2 separate regions of the Homo sapiens genome follow, and region 2 is linked to region 1. Evidence: promoter capture Hi-C in 16 types of primary human blood cells and fetal thymus (Javierre and others, 2016). All regions are on one chromosome and are shown on one strand. Each heading gives the region's core, a stretch centred on a gene start or on the middle of the fragment in contact. The rest is flanking DNA. Distances are from core to core; before and after follow the strand shown. Region 1 holds the start of FATE1 (fetal and adult testis expressed 1). Region 2 overlaps GABRQ (gamma-aminobutyric acid type A receptor subunit theta).

The links. Contacts are between HindIII fragments. The CHiCAGO score rates a contact against its expected background, and 5 or more counts as called.
Region 2: a fragment that was not itself captured here is called in contact with the fragment with the promoter of FATE1 in region 1 in 2 of 17 cell types (M2 macrophages and endothelial precursors); the score reaches 5.9 in M2 macrophages.

The regions. Positions count from the first base shown.
Region 1 is chrX:151,714,320-151,718,569 of GRCh38, reverse strand. FATE1 (fetal and adult testis expressed 1) reads right to left here and starts at 2,535. Exons shown (of 5, transcript NM_033085.3): 1 at 2,345-2,535; 2 at 1,171-1,298. The coding sequence starts at 2,450. The HindIII fragment of the contact is 6,237 bases long and covers 1-4,250 here.
Region 2 is chrX:152,653,195-152,657,444 of GRCh38, reverse strand. It overlaps GABRQ (gamma-aminobutyric acid type A receptor subunit theta), which reads right to left. Exons shown (of 9, transcript NM_018558.4): 9 at 1-4,250. The coding sequence ends at 4,164. All of the region lies in intron 2 of MAGEA3-DT (MAGEA3 divergent transcript), which reads left to right. Among named protein-coding and RNA genes, the nearest start is that of GABRQ, 17 kb to the right of the region's middle. The HindIII fragment of the contact is 8,561 bases long and covers 1-4,250 here.

The sequences.
Region 1 (4,250 bases), core at 1,286-3,785:
CTCTCCAATCTTGTTGCCTTTTCCCAGCAGCCTTTGCAACAGCATAACAACAATTTTTCTAAAACTTTCCCTTACCTACAGTGAATGTAGCTAGCTAAAATGATTGGATACAGAACTGTGGGACTCACTTAATTCTGTAGAATAGTCAGGTTTCCCTCCCCCTCCAAAATGACTGTGTTTTCCCAATATCATTTGCAACATTATAGCCACTATTTGTTCTAGAACATTCCTTCACCCATATTGAATGTAGCTTAAAAGGATTGCCTACAAAATAGTCAGATTCACTTGCCTGGATTTCTTTCTTCTTTCTCTTTCTTTCTTTCTTTCTCTCTTTCTTTCTTTCTTTCTTTCTTCCTTTCTTCCTTCCTTTCTTTCTTTCCTTTTCCTTTCTTTTCCCCTTCCTTCCTTCCTTCCTTCCTTCCTTCCTTCCTTCCTTCCTTCCTTCCTTCCTTCCTTCCTCTCTCTCTCTTTCTTTCTTTCTTTCTTGACAGAGTCTCACTCTGTTGCCCAGGCTGGAGTGCAGTGGCATGATCTCAGCTCACTGCAACCTCTGCCTGCTAGGTTCAAGCAATTCTCATGCCTCAGCCTCCTGAGTAGCTGGGATTACAGGCATGTGCCACCATGCCCAGCTAATTTTTGTATTTTTAGTAGAGACGGGGTTTTACCATGCTGGCCAGACTGTTCTCGAACTCCTGGCCTCAAGTGATCCGTCCGCCTCCTCCTCTCAGAGTGCTGAGATTACAGGCATGAGCCACCATGCCAGTCCACTTGACTGGATTTCTTAACAGCCAGAAAGCATAGGAGCCTCACCTGACTTATTGTGTGTATACACGCGCACACACACACACACACGTACCACACACATAATTTTAAATACAGGAAAGCGTTATTTCACACAATAGATTTATAGAGTAAAGTATTTATGTACTCCCCATGCAATATTTGTTTCAGGCATTCTGAATTCCCAAGGTTGAACCCCCAGCATAGGAAAGGATGACCCTGACCTTTAATTGGAACTTCCTGTCCTCATTTGCCAGCTTGGAGCACAGGAGCTTCCTCCTCCTCACAAGTCAACGTCTAGCCCTGCCTGACCTGGTCAGGCTAGAGCCCCTACAACCAGTACTCCCAACCCCAACCTGGCCACCAAGTGCTGAGGACCCCATACAGTACCATTTTCTTGGGTCGGGTGGCAGTCATATTCCAAACTCGTTTGGCTGAAGCAGAGCCAGCAGCTTTTTGTTCCAACTTCTGCTTCTTCTGGGAGGCACCCCGGGACCGAGATCCAAGCTCCATCATTTCTAGAGAGAAGAACAGAAGCTCCAGGAGCACCCATAGAAGTTGCACCAGGGTTTCTTGGGCACAAAACACACCAAAAAGAAGACAGAGTCTCCAGCTTTCTTGGGAATCACTCAGCACCCATTAACCACTGTCCATCAGCTGATCCCAGGTCTCAGTTTGTTCATCTGTTCAAAAGTTAAACCGGAATTTCCTGAGGGCTGAGCTCGAGACTAGGTTACTCTCCAGTAACCTAGAGACCAATGACCAAGAACAAGATTCCAGCTATCAAGGAACTGACCATCTGTTTGTGTATAAGGGGGAATGACAGGTGTAAAACAGAAAGCAATCTATCCTTGCAAATGCAGACAGAGAGATGCAGGCTCCATAAATGATCAAAACAGGGTAACATAGTGGAAGGAAAGGGCTCCTCCTAGAAAAGTAGGAGACAGCAATTGAGGTGGGGACCTGAAGGAAAAAAAGGACCCAGCCCTGGGAAATTGAGGGAAAGAGCATTCCAGGCAGAGGAAACAGCAAATGCAAGGTCTTTGGGGGAAGAAGCAGGCTTGGAGCATCGTAAGAACAAACATAAATGCAATGTGATCTGGATCCCTTTGTGTGCTATAGAAATGGTATTTTCTGTCTATATCATAGCATGAAACGTTTTGAGGAGGCTGATACAATCTTATAGATCATGGAATTTGGATTTTCCTCCAAATGGCAGGAAAATGAATTGGAGGATTGGGAGAGAGAATTGATCTCTGGTCTCATAATTTGAGCCCTCTGAGTATTTTGCAACAGAGACTGTGGTGGCTTGGATAAGGGGGAGACAGAGGTACTACACATGTTGTTCCCATCCTCCTCCCTCCCAGGGAAAAATGCTCACATCATCTATCCCTTTTCCCCTAGCTCCCTTACATCAACCCACAAATCCTCGAAGCCCGGCCAACACACAGATGTGCAAACACTTCCGTGCACACATGCACCTTTTCCAACACACACATGCACAGGTATAGACACGTATCTACACAGTTGGCTGTAGCCTAGGGGTATTTTAGGGGATCCTCACCTGCTATCACCAGGTGCTCTTGGTTTTCCCCTTGGCGTCCATGATTCAGTTCTTCTGCCAGGGACATTTCCATCTCCGCCTTGGTGTTGGGAGGGCCTCCTGCCATCACAACCAGCTGTTCTCTTGTAAGCTATGGCTAAGGATGCACAGGGTGCCAGGAACAGAGGAGTCACACTCAGAAAATCACCTCTTCCGGAAACAGGAGCTCAAGGAAGATATAGTCAGATCTGGGGGTGGAGTGAGACTCCCTCTCTAGGCTGAGGCCTTGGACACAGTACTTTCTGTTTCTATTGTATCTTGCTGGCTAGGTCAGTGGCCTTCTCCTCTGCTACTCTGTAAGCAACTTAGGAGAAGAGATACAATTCCGTGCCTTTGCCTGTGAGAACTGCTCTGGCTCATGAATCTCCATATTTAGCCCATGGGGAGAAGGGTGGGGTCCACCCTCCATCATTTCTATGAAGAAACAGGGATTGGCACAGGGTCCGAGAGCCAACAGTGGCCACAACAGAGTTAGGTGCTAGCAATCCAGGCCATACCACACCTTCAGAAGGGATTCTCTGGAGAGCGTATCCTACCTCCCCCATCCAGAGTCCCCAGACACGGGAGGTAGCCTTTTCCTGAAGTAGGTCAGCCTAGGCAGGAGCCATAACAAAGGGAGAGAAGGGCAAGAGAGGTGGGACCTGACTGCAGCCACTAGAACCCCCAGGGGCCTCAGGCCCTGCACCTTCTAAGTCCCAGTTCTCCCTCAGCTTCCCTACTGATTAGACCACTGTGATGGTCAGGTTTATGTGTCACCTGGCCAGGTTCTAGTCCCCAGTGACTCCATCAAACCCTAGTCTAGGTGTTGCTGTGGAGGCATTTTGTAGCTGTGGTTGGCATCTACAACCAGTGGACTTGAAATAAAGTAGAGACCCATCCTCGATGATGTGAGTGGGCCTCACACAATCAGCTGAGAGGCCTGAAGAGCAAAGACTGAGGTTTCCCAAAGTAGAGGTAATTCTACCCCAGGACTGCAATGTCAACTCTTCCTTGAGTTGCCAGCCTGCAGGGCTGCCTTGCACATTTCAGACTTGTCAGCCCCACAATCGCATAAGCCAATTTCTTAAAATAAATTTCTATATACTTGTGCATATGCAGATATATACATACATACATGCATACATACATACATACATACATACATACATACATACATATATACATCCTATCAGTTCTGTTTCTCTGGAAAACCCTGATTGCTACAACTACCTGTGGTGAACCCTTCATTCTAGGAAACAACCCCAGAGCCCCTGGGGGAATAGGAGGCTATTTGTAAAAGGAATCAGGACAGGTTTATATAAGGTTCCTTTTACAAATAGCCTCTTCTTCCCCCAGAGCCCCTGGGCCAGGTGGGAGGAAGAGGAGGAAGGAAGGAGGAAAAGAAGAAGGAAGGGAGGAAGGAAGGAAGGAAGGAAGGAAGGAAGGAAGGAAGGAAGGAAGGAAGGGAGAGAAAGTGGAAACGAAGGGGCCAGGAGTAGCTGAGATAGGGCGGCATGGTCTGAGGCTGCCTGCCCCCTGCCCCCACCTCACCTGTCCAGCTTGGGAACCAGAGCTGATATAGGCCCTGCCTGCATTCCTGGGGGCCCCAAAGAAGCCCTTCCCAGATCCAGTGGAGCAGCTGTGATGAAATTCGAGCTTTCTGGAGGGCCACCTTGGGAGCAGAGAAACTGCTGAGTGTGCTCAGCTCAGTGGGATTCAGGAGCCTGGGAAGCCCAGCCAGATTGAGCAAATGAAAATATAGGTACGAAGTACATTTAAATTTCAGATAAACAACAGTATAAGTATTCTCTCGTACACTAACTTTTGGGACATATTTACACTAAAGAATGATTCATGGATTGATTTGACATTGAAATTTAGCTGCATA
Region 2 (4,250 bases), core at 731-3,230, 940 kb before region 1:
ATTTTACTTTGTTAAAGTCCAGACCAGTCAAGGTCCTTTTCATGCAAAGATGTACATTTAATGAGGACAAAGAAGCCACCCAGTCACCTGGTGAAGCTCTGCTGCTTTGTGCCCCTTTTTGGGTCAGGTCGTCCAGGACATCCAGGTCTTGGTCTTTCTCCTCTTTTCTTGATTTTCACTGCCTGGGCCCAGCATCACTTCCAAAGACCTCCGTTTGTTTGATTTTACTGTATTTAATCTGCTTCACAGAATGTTACCGACTTGGCTGACCTCTGAAGAATCCCCCGGTACTGCCCTATGTCAGGCACCACAGCCAGCTGTGCTAAATTCGGGCACCTTTAGCTCTGCTGACTACTGACCCTGGGCATGCAGTCCGGCCGGCGAGATAGTGAGTGCAAAGTCTCACACAAATTGAGTCAATAGAAGTGACCCTGAACAACTGGGCTATTTCATAATTTAAGTTTATCAAAGAGAGACTTTAACATCCTCTCCCTCCCTCCCCTGAAAACCCAACACTGATAATATAGATTTTATATTGATCACAGGACACTACACAACAAACACAAAGACACTACACTTCTAGTAGGACGAGTCACGATTTCCTTTGATGTTGGGCTATGGAATAGCTAGAAAGTTACTGCTCATCACCACAGCAGGGTACCATGCGAGTGGATAGCTTAATAAATGCATTCATTAGTTAATGGCTTTAAGGGTTAGCTATTATATATATGGAATGAGGAAACCTCATTAGGAATGGCCACAGTCTCAGCAAAACTCAGCTCTAAATATGCAAAGACTTTGAAGTCCTGCTATTAACAAGATGACATGAATTGTAAGAATACATTTGACAGGCTCTAGTAAGACCCAGCAGATCGTCCATGACCTGTGCAAAGGCACCCCACAGTGGCAGATGGAACTGGCAAGAACTTGGTAGGAAACGTGTCACACATCCCCACAATAAAATGATACTTCAGAAAGACAGACAGGGGTGTCCTTCCCATGATAGTGGCAAAGAAGGGATCCTGGGTCGGGGAAGTCGATGGGAAGGAAAGAAATGGAAGGTGGGTAGAAGAGTAAAATAGGGGTTGTTGCATCCCAGATGCTGCCCAAGCTCCAAACTACCAAGCATTCTGCACTTCCAGAGTTACCTGGTGTGAGGTGAGGAGAGGGATGGGATGGAGGCAGCTTGCTGGACAGGGGGTGACTGCAGGCTGGGGAGGGGCTGGGAAGGGGTTGGGGACAGCTGAGGACTCAAATGACACAGAGGACAGACCACATACAAGACTCAACAAGGGGAGATCTGGCAACGTGCAGGCTAAAATGACCAAATCCATAGCAAACTCAGAAGGTTCACGTTCCCGAAAGGGTGTCACTGCCAAATCTCCACCTCATTTTGACACTTAACCTACAGAGTATGAGTCGCAGTAGAGTTCAACTGCTCTCATTGCAGCACGTCAGGGCAAGATATCCTTTTTAAGGTATAGTATTATATCTAGCTATATGGATCTATAGAGATATTTACAACTGGCCTCGCTGCCCTTCCTCTGTGCTGTGAAGCCTTCATGTGCATTGCTTCCAGACAAATCTTAAAACCCTCCTTTTCTTCACACTGCTCCAATCTCCCTTTATGACTTTATCCCAAATGAACTGCTTGCCACCACAGGGTTGAAAGCACCTCCAGGGTGCTGGAGACCCAAATCCACGTCAACCAACCAATGCTTAGGCTCCAGGAAGCCAGCCTTTCAATAGCCACATTGGGAGCTTCAGACATGGAGTCACTGCTCTCCCCTCCACCTGAATCTCTGTATGGGGTATCCAAAAATAAAGAGGCAATTTTAGCTCTTCCAGTGGTAACTTTCTTGTTTTCAACTGTCGTACAAGATTTGTGTGTGTGTATGTGTATGTGACTGTACAAGTGTCTATTCTCAATGCCTCTTTCAGCCTCACTCCCCAGCCTGTTACCCCGAAACATGTTCCTCTAGGACAAAGTGAAATGCTCTGTACTTGCAGCTTCTTCCATGGATTAACCACTTCCTACCTCAAGGCACTAGCTCACCACTTCTTAGGACTACATTCACTTCCCCAGTCTTCTATCTAGGAGACAGCACAGATGGATGGAGGGACAGGGCAAACAGTGGAAGGGAACTGGGAGATGCTGCTCCCTGGAACAGGAAGTTGGAAAGAAACAGTCAGTTAAGCAGCCCGGCCAAATAGGGCCCCTCCACCATATGGGAGCAGGCCAAGGGAATTATAGTGGTTCTAGAAGGGTCACCAACAGGGAATACATATGCTTTCAGGGGTATTTCCTTTCACACCCATTCAAATCAGATAAACATAGATATGCAGACATGCCCTTATATACATGCACTCAGCATAGACCCATGTGTACACAAGCATACACATACATAAGCCACACTTTCACAGGGATGTGCACACACACGCATGCATCCACATGCTGTAGATACAATTCTGTACACACCAATGTAGATTTACACCACTAGACACGGCACTATGCAGCTTCTCAAATGGTTGTATATGTACATACACCCACCCTGCTGCATATGCATACACCCAGGTATATACAGAAACACAAACACAGAAGCACAGTTAAAGGGTGAGTGGGTAGAGGGGTAAGGGACTGAGGGAGAGACTGCATAGGGAGGAAGAGGTGGCATATGTTGAGTGCTCGGCAAAGTTCACTCCCTCACAACCTCCATCAGTGAGGTGGAGCTGCTTGGCAAGTTGGAATGCTGGCCAATCCTACTTCCGTTAGGGGCCCTGCTCAGTGGGCAGAGTGTGTTCTCCATCTGCTCACGTCACGCTCATTGGCTGGTCACCAGCCTATTCCTGCAGAGATGCCCCAGGTGCTAGAGGATGTGGTGGGGGCCCTCTGGAGCACCCTCTTTAGGGAGGGAAGAAAAGGAAATGCCTCAGTTGGGACAGTCAGGAGGAAAAAGACAAGAAAGAGCAAGTGGGGTGGATCTACCACTCACTGGCTGCATGTCCTCAAGCATGCGGCATAAGCTCCATTCGTTTTCCTTGGAACACTGGGGACAATGTGCTTTGCCTTCCCTGGCTTACAGGGCTCCTGTGAGGCTCCAGTGATGTAATGGGTCAGGGAGCTTGTTGACACTTACTATGCACTAGACAAATAGAAAGGATTAGTATATAGACTTACGATAGATATTCATCTGCTAGTCTAGATCAGATGGTAAAATAGCAAGTGTGAATTATCCTAACCTTAGTGCTTATTCACCAAGTGCTGTAACTGGTGATCAACTCAGCAACTGACGGAAAGCTAACTCCTGACTTAGACAGATGTATTGAGTCTCTATTGCCAAGCGTTCTGAAGCAGAAATATAGGCAAGTTCCAATCCCTCCGAAGAGGCCAGCTCAACTGTGTAATTTCCAACCTGACATCACCCCCCACCCTCTGCCAACCCCACAAGCTGAGTATGTGCTCTCTCACCCTGATGTCTCACTCTGCAGCCCCATCCACCCACATTCCCCTTCCACGCTTGCATCAAAACACCACAGTCAAATGCCATACAGTGGGGGAAAGGCACTTACAAATGCTCCCTAAGTTTCCTATAGGAAGTTCCCTGAACTTCTAAGCCATGGCTAGCCCTTTAGCTATGAACCCCAGCCCAACCCAGCTTGACTTTCTTCTATAAAGCCCTAAGCAGAGGGTGAACAAGACCCATAATCCCTAGGAGGAAACAAAAAAAGAAGAAAACATGTAATGAAAAAGAAATGTTGACACCTCAAGGGGGACAGAAAAGCCCCCCAGAAATGTTTGTGGGCAAAAGGCCCAGATCCTTGCCCCATCCCCCAACCTGGCTCTTCTCTGTCCTCTAAACATTTCCAGGGGCTTTTCTATGCTTATTCCTTGTTACAAGTCTTTGAAAAGGTGAGAGTCTTCTAGCAGGAAAGGAAATCCATGTGCTGTATACCTCCAACTCCTCCTCAATCCCTTCCCTTCCAGCTAGAACATGTTCTTTCCAATTACTCCCCACCTCATGTTTATAAAGAGAAGTATGAACTTATTGGATTGCCCAAATAACCACAAAATAAAAGGAACAAAGGAAAGAGGGAAAAACAAACCCAAAAGAAACTGAAAGGAGCACAGCACAGTGCTCCCGCTGTTCTGGAGCACTGGGGGACTAATACATATGGTATACCCAGTAAACAATGTTGAACAACCCAAAGGCCAGAGGGAAGAGGAACCGGGACCACTTGTCGACCTTTGG